2 separate regions of the Homo sapiens genome follow, and region 2 is linked to region 1. The links are contacts of gene promoters, found by promoter capture Hi-C in human tissues and cell types (Jung and others, 2019). All regions are on one chromosome and are shown on one strand. The core of a region is centred on a gene start or on the middle of the fragment in contact, and the rest is flanking DNA. Distances in the headings are between cores, read along the strand shown.

Evidence for each region. Contacts are between HindIII fragments. The study calls those that stand out against the background at their distance.
Region 2: a contact is called between a fragment that was not itself captured here and the fragment with the promoter of TP53INP1 in region 1, in 1 of the 25 tissues and cell types used here (lymphoblastoid cells).

The regions. Positions count from the first base shown.
Region 1 is chr8:94,947,697-94,955,000 of GRCh38, reverse strand. TP53INP1 (tumor protein p53 inducible nuclear protein 1) reads left to right here and starts at 5,623. Exons shown (of 4, transcript NM_033285.4): 1 at 5,623-5,847. It also overlaps a transcript of NDUFAF6 not described here. RefSeq lists enhancers at 4,768-4,817, 4,988-5,157, 5,024-5,653, 5,654-6,282 and silencers at 5,278-5,387, 5,468-5,847, 6,068-6,207. The HindIII fragment of the contact is 13,226 bases long and covers 2,303-7,304 here.
Region 2 is chr8:95,693,814-95,700,812 of GRCh38, reverse strand. The region is part of intron 3 of CFAP418-AS1 (CFAP418 antisense RNA 1); the gene reads right to left. Among named protein-coding and RNA genes, the nearest start is that of TRS-AGA2-5, 430 kb to the right of the region's middle. The HindIII fragment of the contact is 3,797 bases long and covers 1,110-4,906 here.

The sequences.
Region 1 (7,304 bases), core at 4,374-6,873:
CTTACCAGACAGCACAGAGTGTATTTATCTCCAGGATGCAACAGAATTGATTACCTGAGGCCCATTCTGTGAGACCTGTTCTCAGGGCTCTACAATTTAGTTCCAGGTTATAATAATAAACACAAAAAGTGACTTCTCAGAGATCTGTGGGCCTTTCTGGAAGTGTTGGAAAAGCCAAAAAGACAGCAAAACAATTCAAAGTTCTACGGCTCTTCAGCTTATAAACCTATGGGTCTGGTCAGGTCACCATCAGATACCAGATCATGCCAAATCCTCAGTTACACTGTGTAGCCTGAGAACAGCACTGCTCTTAAGCACAGCAAAGACTCTTCTACCTCAGGCCTTTGCACTTGCTCTTCCTGCTCCTGGACCACTCTTCTATGCCCTTTGGTTCTCAATGCTCAAATGCCACCTCCTCAGAGAGGCCCTCCTGACCACACTACCTCCCCACCAACTTCTCTCTAACCCTTTACCCAGCTTATCTTTCTTCACAGCACCCACTAAATTATATATTTACTTGTTTATTGTATCTCCTCTACTAGATGGAAGGTTCTTGAGGGCCAAGACTTTTCTGTTTTGTTCACTGCTGTATCCCTGGTGCCTGGCATAGAGTAAGTGCTCATTAAATAACTGTTAAATAGGTCAGGTGTGGTGGTTCATGCCTGTAATCCCAGCACTTTGGGAGGCTGAGGCGGGCGGATCATGAGGTCAAGAGATCAAGACCATCCTGGCCAACATGGTGAAACCCTGTCTCTACTAAAAACACGAAAATTAGCTGGGCTTGGTGGCACACGCCTGTAGTCCCAGCTACTTGGGAGGCTGAGGCAGGAGAATCTCTTGAACCCGGGGGGCGGAGGTTGTAATGAGTGGAGATCACGCCACTGCACTCCAGCCTGGCGACGAAGCGAGATTCCATCTCAAACAAAAAACAAAACAAAAAAATTCATCTTGCAAAATGTAATGGATATTTAAGAGAAATAAATGCCTACTCCTATCAAAGAGGAATAAAGCAGGAAAAGAGGCCCCGAAAGGATACTATAGAAATAAAAAACCTTGCCTTGGATGATCAAAACGTTTAGGCCTGGCTTTGCCAAAGCCATGAGAAACATGGACATTTAAAAGCATAAATTCATCTTGCAAAATGAAATGGATATTTAAGGTAGTTCATTCATGCAAAAAGAAAAAAAAAAGAATCCAATAAACGAGTTTTCCTTAAATAGGTAGATTATTTAGGCAGTGTGTGGCTTATGTAAGTAGTAACCATATCATCTGCATCCTTTTGAGAAGAGCAGAAAGGCACTTGCACTCATGCTGTCACCCTAACAAAGCAATTCATGATTACAGACCCACCTCAGGTTGCCTCTGGCATATGCGGACTGTTGGGCAGTGCCCAGAAGTATCAGTGTGAGTGAAGAAGTCGCTTTGGCAGCGGGAGTTACAAAAGCCCTTTGCTCACACACTTCAACTAATCTCTGACAACCGCCCCAAGAACGAGTCACATCTGCCCCACACAGTGCGCCTCTTCAAGCTTCATGGCTCCTTGGAGCTAGGGTGGTGTATGAAGGGCCATTCTGTATCATGTCTCTAGACCATATCCAGTAAGGGATGACCTTGCTTTCTGCTCAAAGGTTTTTTTTTTGTTTTTTTTTTTCTTGAGATGGAGTTTCCGTCTTGTTGCCCAGGCTGGAGTGCAATGGTGCGATCTCGGCTCATGCAACCTCCGCCTCCCCGGTTCAAGCGATTCTCCTGCCTCAGCTTCCCGAGTAGCTGGGATTACAGGAATGCACCACCATGACCAGCTAATTTTGTATTTTTAGTAGAGACGGGGTTTCTCCATGTTGGTCAGGCTGGTCTTGAACTCCCGACCTCAGGTGATCCACCTGCCTCGGCCTCCCAAAGTGCTGGGATTACAGGCGTAAGCCACCGTGCCCAGCCTCTGCTCTAAGTTTTAACATAAATAATTGGGTTACCTGTACATTCAGCCAGAAACTAAGAAGCCTTGAAAGTACTTTCCAGAAACTAGAGAAAATACTCTAGGCCTGAAGCGATCATTAGTTACAATCCAGCGCAGGCTATCCCACCTCTTGGGGACTCCCCCCTAGCACTGGTTACTGAATGAAGGGGGCCCGCCTCCTTTTTCCTTTCTGCTGCCTCAGCCAGCACACAGACCCTTTTTATTTTAAGGATTTTATTTCTAATCACCACGTGGAAATAGGGTTAAACAAAAAGACAAACATACAAAAGTCACAAAGGTTGCAGGGTCTTGAAAAGCTATTACACTTATGGCCCTGGAATAATTCTTGACTCCTTTCTGAGATGGTAACTGGCAGCCCAGTTAAACGCCTGTTTTCTGTTTTTATTTCAGAAAGCAGAAATCACAGAATCTCTTGCTTCTTTGTTCCAGGCTTTCTGGAGACCCAGTCAGATCCTTTCTTCCCTTAAGACAATAGATGTCACTGGAATGCTAAGTGATTGTTTATCTAAAATGCAATTTAAAAAAATTCTTGTCTTTCCCAGACACTTGGCAACATGCTGTGTCCATGGTAGAAGCCCAGCAGATCCTAACTGTTGATGGGTAGATAGAAAACGACCTAAGTGGACTTCACTTTGCCATTCTCCTCAGTACAGACAGAACAACTTGTTGCTTTGTGTTCTGAGGCTGCCCCAAGTAGCCATCCTATGGGTTGGTAGGAAACAACATTCTTTAGCAGCCTCGATGCAACTGGCAGGGTTATGGCCACAGCCTGCTTTCATAAGCAGGAGGCAGAGGCATTAGTTGCATTGTATCTGTTTGTTGGTGTGAATGTGGTCCTGCACTGTGAGTCTTCCAAACAAAACTTGAGGTTGAATCCCTTTTGTTAGGGTAGATAAGGGAGCGTATTGAGCTCCATGGAAAACAGACAGGAGAACTCTGACAGATGGGGAAAGGGTCACCCCCACAGCAGGGGGTCAGCCTGGAAGTGGGTACTATAGCAACACGCTAAGAATTATTCTGTGAATTAAAGGATGGTTGGATTCACTGGATCTGCCCAGGCAGGGAACCTGGCTGGGTCTTTGTCAGTGAACAGATGAAAAGCTTGCTTGCATTTGTGTAATTTGACAGTTTGGTTGTGTTCAGACAGCTCTACGCTATGGAGATGACATTACTCCTGAGTTTCACTGCATGCATTTATGTAAACCAGTGGCATACCAGGAAGGGAGGCAGTGGGAGTGATCCACCCCAGATACAGGCAGTACACAGTAAATTTGTGTGTCTGCAAAGAATTTTAAAATAAAATTGACTAAAAGTCAGTTTGCTTTTTATTATTATGCTCCAACAGTTCCAAACAATGTCGTGGTAAAGTACTCCTCCCTCCTAGGGACAGACTTCACCTATGCTGCCCTGAGGCACGCCCTCCTTGGTGCACCACTGGGAATAAACAAGCACCAGGTGGGAAGATTATAAATCAGCAAGAGAGTAAACAGAAAGCAAGTGACTCCTGAGACAAGATGTTTTCATCACAAACACTATTTGGTAGAGTTTAGAGTCACTGATCTGTGATGGGCATTTCTGTTAGCTTTGTGTTTTGGTTATCGCTGCTTTAAAAACTACCCCAACATTTAGTGCCTTAAAACAATGATCATTTATTTGTTCACAATGCCGTCATTTTGGCAGTGCTCCGTGGGGATGGCTTATCTCTCCTCTGTTCAGTATGGTGTCTGCTGGAGCTGGAACTTCCTAAGGGCTTTTCCACTCATGTGTCTGGTAGCTCAGCTGGGATGAGCTGAAGAGCTAGAGCTGGCCAGGCATCTCTTTCTTTTCACATAGCCTCTCCCTGTGGCTAGCAGGGTGGTCTCTCCTCATGGGTGGCTGGCATTTTCCAGAGTACAAAGCAGAAGCTGTGGGGTTTGCTTAATGCTTTTGCTTAATGACGAGGCTTGGAAGTCCTAGAACATTCTTTCTGCCACATTCTATTGGTCAGAGCAATCACAGGGTCAGCCCAGATTCAAAGGGAAGAAAAATACACCCACTTCATGATGGAGATACTGTTGTGGTCATCTTTGGAAAAATGATCTACTTCATATTGAATTTTTCTATCATAACAAGATGATGATTTCACATGTTGCTTTAACCATGATAAACCTTATCAAACTGGAAAAAGGTAGGCCTTTTTCTTTTTAAAAATTAGCCCCTTGTAATTGTCATCATACCTTGGTTCTGAATGTGGAGATGGCCTCTTCAATGGATTCCTAGGGAGAAACAAGAGATCATGGGGCTCCTACCATAGCATGTGGGAGAAAATATTAGAACAAGCCTGATTTGCAAAAACCTAAAATCCAAAGCATGTTCAAGTCTGTGAGACTATCTAGAACACAGTTTTAGCTCTTTCTCCCAAGATAAGGTCCAATGACCATCATATTTTGATCATTACTCCTTGGTGTCTGACAACTCCCTGCACTGCAATTTACATCCTTTAAAACCAGCATTGTTGGAAATGGACTGACTACATTGTGAGGGTCAGAATGTGAGTGTCTTTCAGATACTGTAATGTGTGATAGGCATCCCTCCAGGGTTGCTATACAGCTCACCCCAGGTCAAAGAACTACATCCCAGTCCAAACAGTATCCACATGAGAGCTGATAGGCATCAACGTTACTCACCTGCCTTTGCCAGACAGTTAATCCACCTATATGTGGGACAGAGCCTTGGTCTGGAAAACACTTTCAAGCCCACTGTCTCACTCTCTTGTCACTATAAATAACCTGGTGAGTTGGCAGTCCCGGCGTGAATGCCCACAATTTGCAGGTATGCAAACAGAACAGAGGGGCTAAGTTCCGTGGGTCACATGAGAGCTAGGCTGCAGCGCCTGGGGAGGCGGCCGTTCCCGCCCGGTGCGCTTGTTGTCCGCTGGAGCAGAGGCCCCCGAGCCTGCTGACCTCTCTGCCTTCAGGCCTGGTCTCGCAGTCCCTTGTGCCTCGCCTATAGGCAGGCGGAATCCAGAGCGTGCAGCAAGCCCGGCCGGCTCTCGGTGGCGGTTTCTACAGCAGGTGGGGCCTGGCTCCGTGATTGAGCGGCCTCTACCCCTCTATCTGGGGCCCAGCAGCGGCCCCCTCCCAGCACCCTGGCTACACGTCTAACCCTAGGCTGACCAGGTGGGGCTCTCGGAGGCGTTAGCCCCAGCCCTCCCAGGAGTCTTAATGTTCCTCTCACAGGAAAAAACGTTCTGCGCCCTTTGTGCCCCAAACCCTCGACCCTTCACTCGGCGAGAGGGGTCGCTGAGGGAGAGATCCACCTCTGCCCTTCCCGTTGCCCGCCGGTTCTTCCTCGCCCGCCTCTTACGCACCCCGCTCCCGCCGGCTCCTGGAAAGCCGGCCCCGGCCCCAGCGCTTCCCTCCCCGGCCTAGCCCCTCTCTCCCACCCTTCCGCTCGCCCAGGCCTTCACGCTCAGCTCCCGGTTTTTGTTGCCCGGGCTTGTTTCGGAGCTGAGCGCGCCGCCGGCCGGGCGCCAGGTCACGTGCGTTGGTGACAACCTCTCGCAGGGCGGCCCCGGGGCCCCCGCACCGCCGATTGGTGGGGCCCGGCCTGGCGCGGCCCGGGGCGGGGCAGCGGGGCCCGACGGCGAGCGGAGCGGCCGATCAGCTGTTGCGAGCGCTGCACAACAACAAAAGGACTTGGACTGGCCGGCCTGGGCGCAGCGACCCGAGGGCTGGAGCCGGCCCCGCGCCTGCCGTCTGGGTACCTGAACGAGGTGCAGCGCAGCCCGGCCCCACCGCAGCTACCTCAGCAGTCCCGCCCCGCCCGCGTCCTTCCCCGCCGAGCCGGCGGCCGCTCCCTTCCCCGCGCAGCCCCGCACGGCCCGGGCCCACGTAAGTGCCGGGGGGGGGCGGGCGGGCGTCCGTCCAGGGCCGCCTCGCTGCCGGTTGGGGCCGCAGCGCTGCCCGCTCCTGAGCCCGGCGGGGCCGGCCGCGCGCCCTGCCTTCGGGGCGCCGGTTGCGCGTTCACCGAGCCCCCTCGCTGCCTCCCCTCGCCGCCGCCGGGCCCGGCCGCCCACCCAGTGGGTCGGTCCTCGGCGGCCCCCGGGGCCCAGGGCGCGGACAGAGGCTGACAGAGGCGGCGGCGGCGCGGACAAGGGCCCGGCCTGGCCCCGGCGCTGGGCGGCGGTTGGGAGTTTGGTCTCTGCCTCCTCCCCCGAGCGTGGCTTGTTTTCTTGGCCGCGGCGGGACCTCCTCCTCTCACCCCTCCTCACTCCCCTCCACTCCTCCTCCTCCGCCTGCTCTCGGCCGTTGGATGGGGCCGCCCCTTCGGGACTCGGCGTCGGGGCTCCCGCGGCCACCCCCGGGACGCATCTCCGAAGACAGCGGCGCTTGGGCTTGTGGCCCGGCGCTCTGTCCCCGCCCTGCGATCCCGTCCCCTGCGCCTGCCCTCCGAGTTCCGGAGGCCCTGCGGCTATGGGGAACCTGCTCCGTGACCCGGCCACCGGCCCCCGCCTGTCCGCGGCCTGTCCCTTGCTTGACCTGGCTTGAACTCAGTCTTCGCTACCTGACTTTGCACCTGTGGAAAGAGCGCTCTCCTTGGCCCTTAACATTTAGATCCTTTGGATCGCTCACGCTTACTGAGCGCTGAGTATGTGCCATATACTATGCTGGGGGCTTTGCTTTATCGCCCCAGTTGATTCTCATAATAACCTTATATGAAATAGGCCCGGCTATCTTACACATAGGAAACCCGAGGCACAGAGAGATTAAGTTGCTCAAGGCCACACAGCCAATTAATAAAAGGAAATGGTGTTTGTATTTCAAAGTGGCAGCTGAATTTTACCTGGAGAGTCTGTTTTGCTTGTATTTTCTGATTATATCTGCTCAGTAGGTTAATTCCAATACAGAGTGGATTAAGGAAGAGCCTCTTTACAACTGTGACTCCCAAGGACTTGGGCATCTATTGCTAAAAAAGCCTTTTCTCAATGCACAATAGTTTTGGGAAAAGGGGGAACAATGTGACCCTTGGGGTCACTGAACAGAAGTCATAATGAGTTCCCCCACGATACTGAAATCACCAGCCTGGTAATTGAAATACATTTTCATTTGCAGATGTGAAAAGCACTGGGAAGCTTTTAAGTCGCAATCAGTGTAATTCTGAACTGGCAGCATAATTTTAAAAGGCCCCTGCCTGGAACCAGGACCTTACTAATTTCTGTGACCAAGGTCTTGTTTTCTCATCCTATCTTTTGTTCTTTCCTGCCATTGCTTCCTCTGATGTCTGCTTTCAAAATTCAAGATTATCAGGCTATGAATTACCACTTACTCTTGTCTTTGTCCACTGTCTT
Region 2 (6,999 bases), core at 1,759-4,258, 750 kb before region 1:
CTCAGGCTACCACCTTGAGTAACTGAGTGGATGGCGAGGTTGTTCCTTTCTATACAGTAAATAGAATGGAGAGCAGGTTTGGGGGTGAGAAGACCCTTGAGTTCTGCTTTTGAACTCACCTCTTCACTTCCTTCTCTTCACCCATCTCACTCTCTTCTGAGCTCCAATGTCACCTCTTGATGTGATTATGTGAATCTTTACCTTCTTATATAATCATTTAGACCTGTCTTCCATACGCGACTATGACCTCCTTGGCAGCAGAAATTATCATGTATTCATCATGCAGTAAATTTCTGTTCAATTAGTGAATGAATAACATAACCTTTTTTAATAAATGATAATGGAACATTCAAGGGAAACTACCATGTAATGGCCAACCATTTATCCCTACTCTGACATCAAAATACTTAGAATAAAATGAATTATTCTTTTACAAAATATATTATGGGTTTGAAAGCATTGATTGTACTACCCCTCTGAATCTAATCTGTTATGTTTCAGTTAGAAAATCCCCATTAGCTAAAAATGTTTCACATGCAACATAATTCCCATATACTTTTATCTTGCTATTTGCCCTCCTCTGGGCATGTTCCAATTTCTCCATGTTCTTCTTAAATTGTGATATTCTGCTAATCTGACCCACACATAATACAATATGGCCATTACTTCTAAAGAGGGGTGAAAATAAATTATTTTAATCACAATCCACAATTATTTTTTAAAAAGAAACTGCATTTAGGAAATTAAATCAGTAAGTGTCTTGTGGTATAAGGTAAGATTTTGAAGGTGTGGGTTAGTGGGAGTCAAGTAGCCAAAAGATGTAACTAAACTGTTTTATCTTGGAAACTCATAGAAATTGTGGATAGAGGAAAAGTAAGGATGGTTAGTCTAAGGAATTATTTTTTGGGAAAATTTAATTGAAATATAACATACCCTAAAGTGCACAAATCCAAATTGTACAGTCAATGAATTTTTACACAATGAAGACACTCAGACTATGAAATAGAAACATTATCAACACGTAACCCGTTTTGTCCCCTTCTAGTCATTTACCCCCACCAAAGGATGTACTAACTGTTAGAGGACTTTTTTCTCTGTCCTCTAACAATAAGCCTTCACTAAGGTCCTAGCATGGATTCTCCATTCATGATGTCTCTGATAAGCAAGTTGTCTTAGGGTAAAAGAGTTGTGGCTCACCAATGCTAACTGATTATTAATCTAGGGCTTCAGATTCTCACCAGATGTTAGCAGGTTTCCTCCCTCCGTGGGGCTTTGTCTCCCATGCAATGGGAAGTTTTGCTTTGCAAGGCTTTAGCTTAGTCTTTAGCCTTATGCTGCACCCACCTCTGGAATCCAGGGCAAGATGCTCCTCAGCTTGCCAATATTGTTGCTTCTGTCCCATGTGACCACCAAAATCTCTGCTGATTTATTTGTCCTCCATCCGGGATTCTCTACCCAAGCCAAACCTGGATCCCCACACTCACCTTCACCAAGAATCAACAAATGCCCCCAGGACCAGCTGTATTTCCTCAACTTTTCTCTGAATATTTCTTCCCTCTCTGAAAGTATATACCTTTTAGTCTTCAACACTTCTGATCTTCTCTGCCTTTAAATATCTAGAATCAGCAAACTTTCCCGTCAAGGCCAGAGAGTAAATTTTTTTTTTTGGCTTTGAAGGCTATAACAGCCTCTGTCACAATGGCTCAACTGCGTGCAAAACACCAAACAGCCATCAGGCACACAAAAAATAGGCATGGCTAGAATGGGCCTGTGGGCCATAGTTTGCTAACCCTTCACATATAAAATTATTTTACTTACTAGTTCTAGTTCTTCTCAATGAGATTACTGTCCCCCATGATCTATTCTACCCTAGCTGGGAGAAGAACACTGCCAAAGGACGTTTAAGAAGAAGCATGTCTAATATGTAATCTGAAGTTCACATGTGGCTATAATGTAAAACCTTCTCTTTATTTCCCTAAACTTTCAGCAAACTTTTCTGTACATGAAAATACTTCTGTGAGTAGGATTTGTGTGTGTGCTTGTGTGTGTGTTTGGGGGAGGGTGGGCATGTGAAAGTAAAGGGGCTGAATTCAATTTGAGATTCATAAACTTTGGTGCTTTAGGAAGTCAATAAACAATACTTCATTTTTCTCCACCTGGTATCTAAAATAATTGAGAGGTAGACACAGGAAACATGAAAATGGAGCTCAAAATATCACTTTCATTAGTGATAAGCTAGTTGTATGAGGTTTTTTGGTTTTTTGTTGTTGTTTGGTCACGTGTTTTTTGTGCCTTCTTTTGGATGAATTGAGTGCTCTTTCTGATTTCTACTACTTTATGATCTCTGTTGTTGGTTTATTAACTGTGTGCGTGTGTTGTGTATGTGTGTGCTGTTTTTATAAGTAAACTTTTATTGGAATACCACTACACCCATTTATTTATTTATCGTCAATAGGTGCTTTTGTACCACAACAGTAGACCTGAGTGGTGTGACAGTGATCATATTGCCTGCAAAAACAAAAATATTTGCTATCTGGCTCTTGATAGAAAAATTTGCTAATCCTTACTATTAGGTTTACAATTTGTACCTTAATTCATCACAGTCTCCCTATGACTATGGATTTTTCCATGGATCCTTTCATTTCTGTCATTTTTTTGTTTTATGTGTGTTGAAATTATGCAATGGGGTACACACAGATTTAAAAGTGTGATTACCTCATTTTATAATGATTTCCTTATCATTATGAAATGTCCCTGATTATCCCCAATGAAGTTTGTCCCTTTAAAGTCCAAATATTCCAATATAAGTATAGCTACCCAAAATTTTATTCAGTTAGTTCTTACATTATGTGTTTTCATCCTTTTATTCTTAAATTTTCTGATCTTTGTATTTAAAGTACATCTCTTATTAACAGCATATTGTGAAGTTTTACTTTTTATCCAGTTTGACAATCTTATTCTTTTGCTTATTTAGTCCACTTACATTTAATGTAATTACAGATATTGTAGGGCTTGTACCTACCATCTTGCTAGCTTTTTTCCTCCATTTTTGGTCATCTATTTTATGTTACTTTAGTTTTTGTTTTTTTGTCTCCTTATAGGTTAACTAAACATTTATTATTCTATATTCTATTTCCCCTTCTCTAATTTGTTAGTTATACACACTCTTGTTTTCTTTTAATAGTTACCCTAGAATTTATGATGTGACTTATTAGAATCTAATACAGATTTCTAACTTTCCCACTTCCCAAATACTTTTAGACCTTTTAAACTCAGTTGATGCCTTTCTCTTTTATTCGTTATTTTATATATATTAGTTGTAAATGTATTTGAAACTTCAAAAGACATCATTATAACTGTTTTCTACAGCCAATATATACTTGCATACCCACATATATATTTATATATAATATTTGCTTATTTACTCACATACATATCTTTTCTGGTATTCTTCTTTTTTTTTTTTTTTCACTCCTGCCTTTTGAGTTATCCTTCTGGGGTCATTTTCTTTTGCCTGAAGAAGTCCCTTGAGTATTTCCTACAGTAAAGACCTACTGGCAATTAATATTTTGGGTTGCTGCTTTTCTGAAAATATTTTTATTTTGCCTTCATCTTTGAAGAATATTTTCACTTCCCCTCCCCCTCCACCATTTGGGCCTACAGAGACAATACTCCATTTTCTTCTGGCTTCTCTAATTTCCTTTGACAAATCAGATGTAAGTCATTTCTGTTTCTTTGAATTTGTTTTTCTTTTCTCTTTTCCCAATGCCTCTAAAATCCTGATCATACATTTAATTTAAAAGTTTGATAACTATGTGCCTACATGTAGTTATCTATGTGTTTATACAGCTTGGGGCATGCTAAGCTTCTTGAATCTGTGGATTAATGTCTTTCTTCAATTTTGGAAAATGCTTAGTTATTATCTCTGACATTCTCTCTCCCTTTATTCTAGAAGCCATTTATACACATATTTAAGTAGTTCTCACTTCTCTCTCACGCATTTTTTTTATCCTTTTTTTCTCCCTGTGCTTAGGTTTGAGTGTATTTTTATTAACATGACTTCTAGGCCACTAATTCCTTTCATCTGCCGTGACCCATCTGTTGCTAAACATCCAACAAGTTTTTAAATAATAAAATGGCTTGCGATGGTCATCTCAACTGAGTAGTCCTCCACTCTCTCGAATTTTAGTTCATCTGTTCTTCACAGTTTTCACAGCCCTGCAATGTCTTTAAAACATAATTCTTGTAAGTTACCTTTTTTCCATTGTTACAATAGAAAAATTGACCTACCGCAACCTATTTTATTATACTCGAAGTCAGAAATTTCTTGAAAGACTATTCTTTATTAGTGAGCAAACTGTTGCAATATGTTTAATCCAGTACTCAATAAATATTTACTGAGTATCTTTGTATCTGTAAGGAATCCATCTGGCTGTGGGTAACAGAAAACCTGACTATAGAGGCTTAAAGAAATAAGGGTTTCTCTTGCTCACCTAATAAGAACTCTGGAGTTAGGTAGTTACTGATATTGTTTCAGCAGCTCAGTGATGTCAGTGTTGATGTCTTTGAAATTATCCTGGCCTTTTCTTAGTACATCTCATCTCAAGGTCACCAGATAGCTGCAGCTCTAAATAATATTTCCACATTCTAGTCAACAAATAGGTAGAAGGAAGGAACATGACAGTCAGCTGTGTTTGGGTTTTTTGTTTTTCAGGAACACAACAGCTATCCAAAACCTCTGAGCTAAATTTGGATTTTGTTTGACTGATCAGGCTGTATCATATAGCCACCACCAGTAGTAAGGGAGGGTGAAAAATTTGGTACCCACCTAGGTAGAAGTTGACTGGGTAAAGAGTAAGTGGGTAGGCAAAGAAAATATAAGTTCAAAGGACAATAGGTGAGGAAACATATCAGGCTTTCAGAAGCAAGAGACAGAAAACCAAGTTAGTATGCTTCAAACAATAAGGTCACTAATTATCTCACATTACAACACACCTGGAGGAAAGGTAGAGTAATTTAATAGTTCCACAAGATATTATTTTATCTTCCCATTCTGCCACTCTCAACAGTGATCAGTTCCACTCATGATCGTAAGTTGGCCCTAGCAGCTCTAGACATCATATCTTTACTCATCAAATTCCAGAGGTAATGATAGGAATCATTCCTGTCTTTGATCCCAAAAACCTTCAACAAACTTCCTCTCAGTCAGTGGTGACACTAATTGTCAGAGTAAAAATCTGTCAAATTAGTGTCACATAATTAATATCACTGATGTGCTTAAATCAGCTATTTTGAAAAGGTAATGAGTTGAGTATAATTAAGGTTTACCCCCAATAACTAGGAAGAGGCCCAGCCTTCTCTGAAGATATTTATGCCGCAGAACCAGTAAATACATTTAGGATTCTTTAACAAGGAAGAACGGGAAAATTACTAAACATTCTGCAGTGTTTGCTACAGAGGGCATGAGACACTCAGGAAATTCAAATAATTCAGTATGTTTGAAATATAAAGAAGAAGATTGGAAATGAAGTGAATGGAAAATCAAGGTCAAGCCAGATCTTGATGGGCCTTTAAAGTCACCAGTCTGAGTTTAGACTTTCTCCTGAAGGCAATGGGAAGCTATTGTACCATTGTAAGCAGGGAAATGACACAATTCGACTGGAAATAAAAGTCTGGATTTATTATGAAGAATGAATGGATGGGACAAGATTAAAGACAAGAGGGCATAAGGAAACATAAGGCATGGCTGTCAAGTAATGAGATGGTTTCCACATGACTTGCAAATAATATTATACTAGCTAACATTTACTCGAATTAGCTCATGCAACCTTCACGATAACCTGGTGAGGAAACTGAGACACAGAGGTTAAGTAACCTGCCCAAAGTTTAAAAGTTATGGCAGAGTTGGGGCTGAAACTCAGGAAGTCTGTCTCCAGAGCCTGTAAGCTTAACCGCCATGCTGTAAGCCTTACTGTGTTAGCTTGGAAGTAAGTCTCTAAGAACTCTTGCATAGTCCCTGATTTTAGGCCACTGACTAATACTCCTAAGAAAATAAGATAAACTTAAGGAGGAAGTATGGCTGCATAGGGCTCTGGGTTCAAACCTTGGTTCTGATGCTCATCAGCTGCAGCCTTGAATGAGCTTCCTGAGTCTTCTGAGGCTCAGCTTCCTCACCTATATAGTAAAGGAGGCCATTTCACTTTGAATATTTGTGCAGATTGAATTAAATGGGAAAATGTTTGAAAGCTTTCAGCACATGGAAGACTCTCAAAATTGTTCAACCCTTTCTTGTCTTTTTCAAATAGCAATACCATGGTGAAGGAGACATTCCAGATTATTTGATATTCTAGAAGGCAAGAAGTGATGTGTGGTTGCTAATGAGGAACACAGAAGACCAGCACTAGAGCAGGAGTTTAAACCTGGGCATCCATGAGCTTGAGGAAAAAAAAAAAAAAAGAATCACATCTTGTTTTTTATCAGTGTCTAACTGAAATTTAGCCTTTCCTTCATTCTTAACTATAGGCAACAAATCTGAGTGGCACTAGGAATACCTGTGCCTCAGGCCAACAGAAATCAAATAAAGTGCCTTCAAATCACATTTCAGTTATTACAGATGTCAAAACATTTTTGACACTCATCACTACTTTGAAATTACATCAGTTATTAGCTCTGCCATTAAATCTTGTAATTTAACAAATTGATAAGGTATACACACGTTTCTATTGCTCATAAATGAAAAAAGTATTTTGATAATTCATTTTCAATGAAATGGGTTTCCATTGTAATCCTGTGTTTTTTATTTTATGTATCTAAAAACATTATTTTGAGAAGTCCATGGGCTTCACCAAAGGCAAAAGGGAGTCCATGGCACAAAATGAACTTCTGCACACGAGGACCTCAGCCAGTGGTGCGGGCGGACTGCAGAGGGAGGAGGGCAGCATGAATCCTATCAGTCTCATGCACCAGGAGTTTGGGGGAGGAAAAAATGCGCAACACTAT